Linked DNA regions of Homo sapiens: all the other regions are linked to region 2. The links are contacts of gene promoters, found by promoter capture Hi-C in blood cells and fetal thymus (Javierre and others, 2016). All regions are on one chromosome and are shown on one strand. The core of a region is centred on a gene start or on the middle of the fragment in contact, and the rest is flanking DNA. Distances in the headings are between cores, read along the strand shown.

Region 1 (3,067 bases), core at 360-2,859, 280 kb before region 2:
GGGTCCTTTTCCACTGTGTGGTAGCTTTGTTCTTTTGCTCTTCACAATAAATCTTGCTGCTGCTCACCCTTTGGGTCCGCACCACCCTTATGAGCTGTAACACTCACCACGAAGGTCTGCAGCTTCATTCCTGAGGCCAGCGAGACCACGAACCCACTGAAGGGAACAAACAACTCCAGACGCGCCGCCTTTAAGAGCTGTAACACTCACTGTGAAGGTCTGCAGCTTCAATCCTGAAGTCAGCGAGACCACAAACCCACCAGTAAGAAGAAACTCCAGACACATCATCTTTAAGAACTGTAACACTCACCGTGAGGGTCTGCGGCTTCATTCTTGAAGTCAGCGAGACCAAGAACCCAGCAATTCCAGACACACTACCGCAGATTTTTATTCCCATAAAGTTGATGACTAGATAAATGAAAGTAGAAAAAGACCACCACAATCACCTGTGGCTGATCTTATCTTGCTGGAAATAGAAGCAGCAGTAGGAAGTTGACCTACACCTTAATTCTGACCTCCAAATAAATATCACATAACTGCTTGTTACGTTGTAGATCAAATTTTCTCCTAGACTCCTAGCTTCAATGGAGTCTGTGTAATATAGTGTTTAGTCTTCTGAAATCTTTTAAAAAAATTATAAGGGAGGTTTAAGAGAGGCAATTCATTTTAATATAAATTTGGAATCACTTTTTAAAAATATCTATTGGAGTTATAAATTGATGTGTGGAGAATTGCTATCTTAACAATATTGAGTGTTCCAACCCACGAAAATGATGTTAATAACATTTACTTAAGTCTGTAATTTCTCTCAGCAAAATTTATAGTTTTTTTTTTTTAAATAGAATTCTTCCGTTTTTAAAAAATGTTACTTTAAGTTCTGGGATACATGTGCAGAACATGCAGGTTTGTTACATAGGCATATATGTGCCATGGTGGTTTGCTGCAGCCATCAACCTGTCATCTAGGTTTTAAGCCCCGCATGTATTAGGTATTTGTCCTAATGCTCTCCTTCTCCTTGCCCCCCACTCCCTGACAGGCCCTGGTGTGTGATGTTCCCCTCCCTGTGTCCATCTGTTCTCATTGTTGAACTCCCACTTATGAGTGAAAACATGTGGTGTTTGGTTTTCCGTTCCTGTGTTAGTTTGCTGAGAATGTTGGCTTCCAGCTTCATTCATGTCCCTGCAAAGGACATGATCTCATTCTTTTTTTATGAAAAATGGGATCTAATTAAACTAAAGCGCTTCTGCACAGGAAAAGAAACTATCTTCCATGTTTTGTAAAATTTATCTCTAACATGTTTTTGGATGCTGTTGGAAATGAAGTTGTTTTCGAAATTCATTTTCTAATTGTTCATTGCTAATACATAAAATTATAATTTTTATACATTAACATTGTATTCTGACCTCAATAAATTCACTTATTAGTTCTAGTAGACTCTTTAAGCTTTCTATGTATTAATACTTGGTCATGTCATCTACCAATAAAAACGACTTTCTTCTCCCTTTCCAATTTATTGACTGTCATTTCTTTTTCTTGCCTTACTGCACTGGCTAAAACTTCCAGTATAATGTTGAACAGAAATGGCAGAATAGATATCCCTGCCTTGTTCCTTATCTTAGGTAGAAAGCATTGAGGCTTTCAATATTGAGTACAGTGAAAGATGTAGGTTTTTGAAGATGCCCTTAATTAGATTAAGAGAAATGTTTCTTTTATTCTTAGTTTGCTGATAGATTTTTTGAAATCACAAATTAGTGTTGAACTTTACAAAAAGCTTTTCCTGCATTTATTGAAATGATTATATTTTCTTCTTTATTCTAATATGGTGAATTACATTGATTAATTTTTGGATGTCAAACCAACCTTTCACTCCCCAGATAAACCTCATTCCATCATGATGTATAGTAAGTATTCTTTTACATATACTAATTTGTTTTGTTAAAATTTTGTTAAGTATATTTGTGTCTATATTCATGAGGGATATTTGTCTGTAGTTTTTTAATATATTTGGCCTCATGAAATGAGTTTGGAAGTATTTTCTATTTTCTCAAAGAGTTTGTGTACAATTGGTTTTATTTCTTCCTTAAATGCTAGAGTTTACAAGTGAAGCCATTTAGGCATGAATTTTTCTTTTTGGAAAGATTTTTAATTAAAAATGCAATTTCTTGAATTAATAGGGCAATTCAAGTTTTATATTGCTTATTGGGTTAGTTTTGGTAATTTGTGTCTTTCAATGAATTGTTCATTTCATCCAGTGGTAGCTCTGCCCCAGGGAGGATCTTCCTGGTTCATTTTCCTCCATGGCCCTTTCAAAAGTGAATGTTGATCATAATCGTGATCCCCAGTTTATTGAATTTATTGGCATAAAGTTGCCTGCCATATTCTCATATTTTTCTTCCAATGATTATGCTCTGCAGTGAGTGATGTATTCTGTTGCATTACTAAAAGTTCATGGGTGGCAATTTCTGTCTTATCTCTTTATTCTTTACCCATCTAAATGGAAGTTTATCAATTTTATTTTTTTTAAAGACCCAGCTTTTGATTTCATTTTCACTATTATTTTTGTTTTCTATTTTAATTTTTACACTTACCTTTATTATTTCATTTCTTAATTTTTTAAATTTCTATTTCCCTTCTTCTACTTGATTTTCACTACCTTTCCACTCTGGAAGAGGTATTTTGTAGGATGACGGTCAAGTTGTCTTTTTTCGGATACTTCCTCATATTTTGATTCAGATTATGATTTTTGGCAACAATCACACAGAAATGACAGAGTTCTTTTCAATGTATCCTATCAGGAGGAACTAGGTGTTATTTGTCCCAATATCAGTGATGTTAGTTTTGATCACTTGGCTAAAATAGTGTCTGTCAGGTTTTTCTTCCGCAAAGTTATTATTTGCAATTAAGTATTTTGTGGAGAAAAAATTGAAGAGTATATAATTATTTCTCATCAGACTTTTACTGATTTAGCATTCATTGATTCTTGCCTGAAATAATTATTACTGTGATGGTTGCCAAATGCTGACTTTCTAATTGCATCATTTTTACTACATGTAGGTAATTGGAATCT
Region 2 (3,449 bases), core at 168-2,667:
CATATCATGTGCTGTCAGAGAACCCTTATTAGATTTCCCCATTCTCATGTCTTTTTGCTGGATTATTGATCCTGATTCCTGTGCTCTTCCCAAGTACTCTGTATTCTACTCCCAAGTAGCCGGGACTACAGGCACCCGCCACCACGCCCAGCTAATTTTTTGTATTTTCAGCAGAGACGGGGTTTCACTGTCTTAGCCAGGATGGTCTCGATCTCTTGACCTCGTGATCCGCCCACCTCGGCCTCTCAAAGTGCCGGGATTACAGGCTTGAGCCGCTGCGCCCGGCCGGAATTCCGAAGTTTTATTTTCAAAAGTATAACAGGAATTTTACTCAAATTCAACCACAAGTTGTCCACTTCTAAACAAATAGTCCCCTACACAAATAGCGATCCTGGAGTTTATAACAAGTAAGACCTCCCAGGATTTTGAAATTGGTACTCTTTTTGCTCCCAGAACAGAAAGGGAAAGTAAAAAAACAGTAACCACCCACTTCAGAGATCAGGGTTATCATTAAATGTACACTAAGCTCCTATTGAGTGCAGAGCATTAGGCCAATTTGAGATTTTTCAATAGAAGAATAAAGATATTATAAATGTAAACTTCCTTAAAGCCCTAGACAGAGTTCCTCAAAACACCGCAAAAGGACACCAAATGCCTGTAAGCTGAGTTGAAGGAAAGCATACGTACCATCTGAAGCAGAAACTCGCCACGCAACCATAAGACAGCACGCACACCAAAAAAACATCTGGTGATCAAAGTCCTCTCCCCAGGCTGGAATTCACCCAGCTCAGACACCTGGTTTGAAAAAAAATAGATCTTCTAACACTGCTTAAGACCAACCTAACCACCTCCTCTCTAGAGAAGAGGTTATATTGATTTACCCTCCCTGGAGAAAATGAAAAGAAAAAATCTTACGACAGGAAATCAGAACAGCTGTAAGGAAGCTGGTATAGGGAGGAACTGCAAAAATACAAAGGGATGGTAAAAGAGTTGCCAGGTTTAAAACTCAGTTTCAGAAATTTCCTGGTTTCTGGGAATGCAAATCCAGTTGACCAGTCTTTTTGAAACGCAGGCTTATCCTTCCCCAACAAACATGGGCCAAATGGTCTTGCCATGACCTTGACTTCTGTCAATAGTTGCCAATGTTTACAGTCCAACTTCTGTAACTCTGGCCAGCACTGGGGAAAGAGAACGGGCTGTCAATCCCTGGTTCTTGCCCAGGTAGAACACAATTTTGAATGCTACCTCATCCTCCTTTCCTGAATACCAGATATCCTAAGGCTGTAAGCAGCACTGAAGACGAAAGCTCAAGGAAGTAAACTAACCTTACCTGTCTCTGTCCCTCCAGAGTTAGGGCTTCCCAGCAAGGAACTGGTCTTAACTGACTCCAAAGCTGAGAGCTCCAAAGTCCTGCAGTGACACATTGTTCTCGCTTGCCAGGCCTGTACCCAGGCTTCCTACTTTGTGGCTCTTCCAGGGACAGGATTTGGCCTGAGTCCAGAGTTAACCAAATGAGTAAAGAGAGAGGTGAGGAGAATGCTTTGGTCTCAGGAATTAAGGCATGTAAAATTGTTTTGAGGGATCCCATATCATCTTGCTTGTGACTACTATAACCCTTGGTTGGTTCTCTGTGCTGTAATTATGAAACTGGGGAAAAATTCCTACAAAATTTCAGGTTTTAATAGAATAATAAAGCATTAAGGACACAGTAAGGTTGCAAATGTTCTTCTCTTCTCCATCCATTACTACTGTTTGTGATGATTAATCTATGTCTTTCTCCTGAAAGGAATCAGGATATGCCACCCCCAAATATTTGGCGTTAAGATTCTTTTAAGCTGAAGATATTTGAGATTCAGTGATATGGAAAGGAACAGAGATTTTGGGGGCTTTCCTTATCTGACTAAAGGCAGCAACCTTGGAGATAAGGTTGCCATAAATTCCTTTTCAGGGTAGGTCTATCCTGGAGGGGAGAGCATGAGTAAAACATATTTCAAATTCCTTCTCCAGAGAAATTTCATGGCCTTGAAGGAGACAGAAAGAACACTCGTACTTATATACACAAACATTATCACAAAACTTTCTAATTTCCTACTTTTCCCCTGAAAACCCACTTGCCTTTCCAAAAAATAATCTGTTTTCTTTTTTGTTTGAGATGGTGTCTTGGCATGATCTTGGCTCACTGCAACCTCCACCTGCCAGGTTCAGGCCATTCTTGTGCCTCAGTCTCCCGAGTAGCTGAGATTACAGGCATGCGCTACCACGCCTGGCTAATTTTTGTATTTTTAGTAGAGATGGGGTTTCACCATGTTGGCCAAACTGGTCTTGAACTCCTGACCTCAAATGATCCACCCGCCTTGGCCTCCCAAAGTGCTGGGATTATAGGCATGAGCCACCGCACCCGGCCAATAATCTGTTTTCTTGTAAGTGCCTTTCTTCTCCCCACCTTCACCTATTAAGATGATGTATAAGCCCCAATTCTAACCAACTTTTTGAATTACTTATCACTGAGTTTTCCCACATGTACTCAAGTTACATGTATAAATAGAATTTTCTCTCCTGTTAATCTGTCTTAGTCTAATTTGCAGGTCCCAGCCACTGAATACAATATGGTAGAGGAAAGGTGTTTTTTTCCTCCCCTTTATTCCCACAGGAAACTGCTAACTCCAGGACAGGGTTTGTGTCTGATTTGTATTTGTATTCCCTTCCACGGTGCTTCATATTGCAAAGCAGTTGTCTGTTAAATGAATGAAAGTAATGCAGAAATAAATGAAAAAAACTGTCATCCAGAAACTCTACCACAGCCCCCAAAATCCATATGATCACTTGCCATTTATCACATGCTGCCTTATGATTTTTTATGTCTTATCTTTTCTTAACTAATATGCAAATTCCTATAGTGTAAGCACCCTCTAAGACATGATTTTCAAAAAGTTAAAAATATGACACAAGTAAATATAAGATGAATATATATCAAAGATTTAATTCAACTCATTAATTAATGAGGAAACATTCAGATGCTACAACTGGTTCAAAGAAGAATTTGAGGAATAGGAATGCATATAGTCAGTCAGTCAAAAGCATTCTGAAGTGACCTTTCCAATAGATACAAAACTGGTTAATATCCTACAGAGTAACAAACTGTAATATTTGCAATTAGCTTTTCTACCTGGTGGAAAGTAATTAAAACAAAATGGACAAAATATATTTGCTCTACTATAACCAGGAATCATTTGCATTGTTCTCAGATAAGAGTCATTTGCATTCCTATAAATTTACTGCAAATTAACCTCTATGCTTAAAGAGTTCTAAAAGAACTTTAAATAAAGTCAGTCAGAGATCATCTCCAGAGGGCCTGCTAGAAAATGCCCAGGAATCCATTGAGCATTTACTCCAGTGATCTCTTTTTGCTAATCCTAAGCTTTGAATAATTTTTATTTACATACCCCATG
Region 3 (3,260 bases), core at 32-2,531, 260 kb before region 2:
CTATATGATTTTGTCTTTAAAAACAATAAAAACAAAACCAACAGAAAGCAAGCATTCTCAATGGGGGTGATACCTGATGAAAGTTAAAAAAAAATTTTCCTTTTTTAAGTACAGAGTGCAGATATATATGTGATACATAAACTGATTTACAGTATATGTGTGGTGGAGGATGATCAAAAAAAAATGTCTAAAAAGGTCTTTGGTGAGAAGAGAGCAAGAATTAACGCACCCCCCACCCCCCACAAAAAAAAATTGGGAAACACTTATACAAAGCCAACGGAAGAAAAGATTTAAAATTCACAACACATGCTTCATTTACAAGGCAAATTAGAAAGTTCTGTAACATTAGTCAGTCTTTCTTCCTTAGCAGAATAGGAAAAAAAAATCAAATACTTCCAAAATTCAAAGATCATCTGTATCATTTTACTTACATTGCAGTGTAATTGATGAAACAATTTTCTTGCAGTAGAGTTAATTTATCTTTAAAGAAGAGTAACCTCATTCACATAATAAATTTAATGAATATAATTTTCAGGTTTATGTCCTACAAATATGAAATCACACACAAAAAATGTTGCCATATGTCCAGTTTAAGAAGGAAGGACTTCCTCTTTATTTTTTAACACAAGCTGGAATGCCGACTAAGGAAAGTTTTCTAGAAAATCAAAGGGTATAATACTTAAAGAATTTCAGGAAAAAAAGGCATTTCAAACCTTCATTGAGTGCCATTGAGCAGGTGAGAAAAAACTCATTTATTAAACTCATCACTTTTGTGATCATTAAATCATCAGACTTTCATTTGAAACACATTTATTTCTATTTAAAACAAAGTGAATTCCAACAGTTGGAATCTTTCAAGATAAATCTTTTAGCTTAGAAGTTCATTCAAAATATAAAATAACCACAATAAATAATAATGATAGTAATGATAATGTTTTTATTACTCTTTTCAGATCCAACACTGGATCATCCAGATTCATAAGACAAGTTCTTAAAGACCTATGAAGAGATGGAAATAACCACACAATATAGTGGGAGACTTCAACACCCCATTGACAATGTTAGACACATAATCAAGGCAGAAAACTAACAAAGATATTCATGACCTAAACTTGACACTTGACCAAATGGACTTAACAGACATCTACATAACATTACACCCAAGAACAACAGGATATACATTCTTCTCATCTGCACATAGCACATACTCTAAGATTGACCACATGCTCAACCATAAAGCAATTTTAAACAAATTCAAAAAACCAAAATCATACTAACCATACTCTTAGGCCACAGCATAAAATATAAATCAATACCAGGAAGATCTCTTAAAACTATACAATAACATGGAAATTAAACAACCTAATCCTGAATGACTTTTGGCATTCTGAAAATTAAGGCAGAAATCAAGAAATTCTTTGAAACTAGTGAAAACAAAGATACAACATACCAGAGTGTCTGGGACACAGCCAGAACAATGTCAAGAGGAAAGTTTGTAGCATTAAACACCTACATCAAAATGTTAGAAAAATCTCAAATTAACAAAGTAACATCACCTCTAGAGGATGTAGAAAAAACAAGAGCAAACCAACCCAAAAGCTAGCAGAAGAAAAAAAATAACCAAAATCAGAGCTGAACTGAATAAAATTGAGATGCAAAAATCCATACAAAAGATCAACAAAACCAAAGCTGGTTTTTTGAAAGAATAAATAAGATTGATAGACAACTAGCTAGATTAATAAAGAGAGAGAACATCCAAATAAACACAATCTCAGATGACAAAGGGGACATTACCACCAACCCCACAGAAATACAAAACACCCTCAGAGACTATTTTGAACACCTCTATGTACATAAACTAGAAAACGTAGAAGAAATGGTAAATTCTTGGAAAAATACAACCTCCTAAGATTGAACCAGGAAGAAATTAAATACCTGAACAGACCAATAACAAGTTCTTAAATTGAATCAGTAATTTAAAAAACCTACCAACCAGAAAGAGCCCTGTACCAGATGGATTCACAGACAAATTCCACCAAACATACAAACAAGAGCCGGTACCAATCATACTGAAACTATGCCAAAAATCAAGGAGGAGGGACTCCTCATTCTATAAGGCCAGCATCACACTGATACCAAAATCTGGCAAAGAGACAGGACAAAAAAAGAAAACTTCAGGCCAACATCCCTGATGAAAGTAAATGCAAAAATCCTCAACAAAATACTAGCAGATCAAATCCAGCAGCACATCAAATACCTAACTTACCACGATCAAGTAGGCTTTATTCCTGGGATGCAAGGTTGGCTCAACATATCCAAATCAATAAATGTGATTCATCACATAAACAGAACTACAAACAAAAAAACCACATGATCATCTCAATTGTTGTAGAAAAGGCTTTTGACAACATTCAACATCCCTTCATGTTAAAAGTCATCAACAAACTAGGCATCAAAGGAACATACCACAAAATAATAAGAGCCGCCAGGAAAAACCCACAGCCAACATCATACTGAATGAGCAAAAGCTGGAAGCATTCACCTTGAAAACCAGTACAAGACAAGGATGTCCATTATTATCATTCCTATTCAACATGGTACTGGAAATCCTAGCCACAGCAATCAGGCAAGGAAATAAAAGGCATCCATATAGGAAGAGAGGAAGTAAACTATCTCTCTTCACAGATGATATGAGTTTAAACCTAGAATACTCCATAGTCTGCCCAAAAGCTTTTAGAACTGTTAAACAACATCAGTAAAGCTTCGGGGTACAAAAATCAGAAGCATTTCTATACACCAACAATGTCAAGCTGACAGCCAAATCAAGAATGCAATCCTATTCACAATAGCCACAAAAGGATAAAATACCTATGAATACAGCTAACCAGGGAGGTGAATGATCTCTATAGAGAAATACAAAACAAAGAAGACAGAGACAATACAAACAAATGGAAAAATATTCCATGCTCATGCATAGGAAGAATAAATATTTTTAAAAGGGCCATACTGCGGGCATGGTGGCTCATGCCTGTAATCCCAGCACTTTGCAAGGCTGAGGCAGGTGGATCACTTGAGGTCAGGAGTTTGAGACTAGCTTGGCCAACATGGTGAAACCTCATCTCTACTAGAAATACAAAAATTAGCTGGGTGTGGTGGTGTGCACCTGTAATCGTAGCTACTTGGGAGGCTGAGGCAAGAGAATCACTTGAACCCAGGAGACGGAGGTTGCAGTGAACCAAGATCATGCCACTGCACTCCAG

Evidence for each region. Contacts are between HindIII fragments. The CHiCAGO score rates a contact against its expected background, and 5 or more counts as called.
Region 1: a fragment that was not itself captured here is called in contact with the fragment with the promoter of C4BPB in region 2 in 2 of 17 cell types (monocytes and naive CD4 T cells); the score reaches 6.6 in monocytes.
Region 3: a contact is called between a fragment that was not itself captured here and the fragment with the promoter of C4BPB in region 2, in 9 of 17 cell types (monocytes, total B cells, naive CD4 T cells and 6 more). The highest score is 11.9, in monocytes.

The regions. Positions count from the first base shown.
Region 1 is chr1:207,367,875-207,370,941 of GRCh38, reverse strand. No RefSeq gene overlaps it. Among named protein-coding and RNA genes, the nearest start is that of CD55, 48 kb to the right of the region's middle. The HindIII fragment of the contact is 328 bases long and covers 1,446-1,773 here.
Region 2 is chr1:207,086,828-207,090,276 of GRCh38, reverse strand. C4BPB (complement component 4 binding protein beta) reads right to left here and starts at 1,417. Exons shown (of 7, transcript NM_001017365.3): 1 at 1,331-1,417; 2 at 688-795. The coding sequence starts at 745. The HindIII fragment of the contact is 12,500 bases long and covers 1-3,420 here.
Region 3 is chr1:207,349,229-207,352,488 of GRCh38, reverse strand. The region is part of intron 9 of CD55 (CD55 molecule (Cromer blood group)); the gene reads right to left. Among named protein-coding and RNA genes, the nearest start is that of CD55, 29 kb to the right of the region's middle. The HindIII fragment of the contact is 2,902 bases long and covers 1-2,732 here.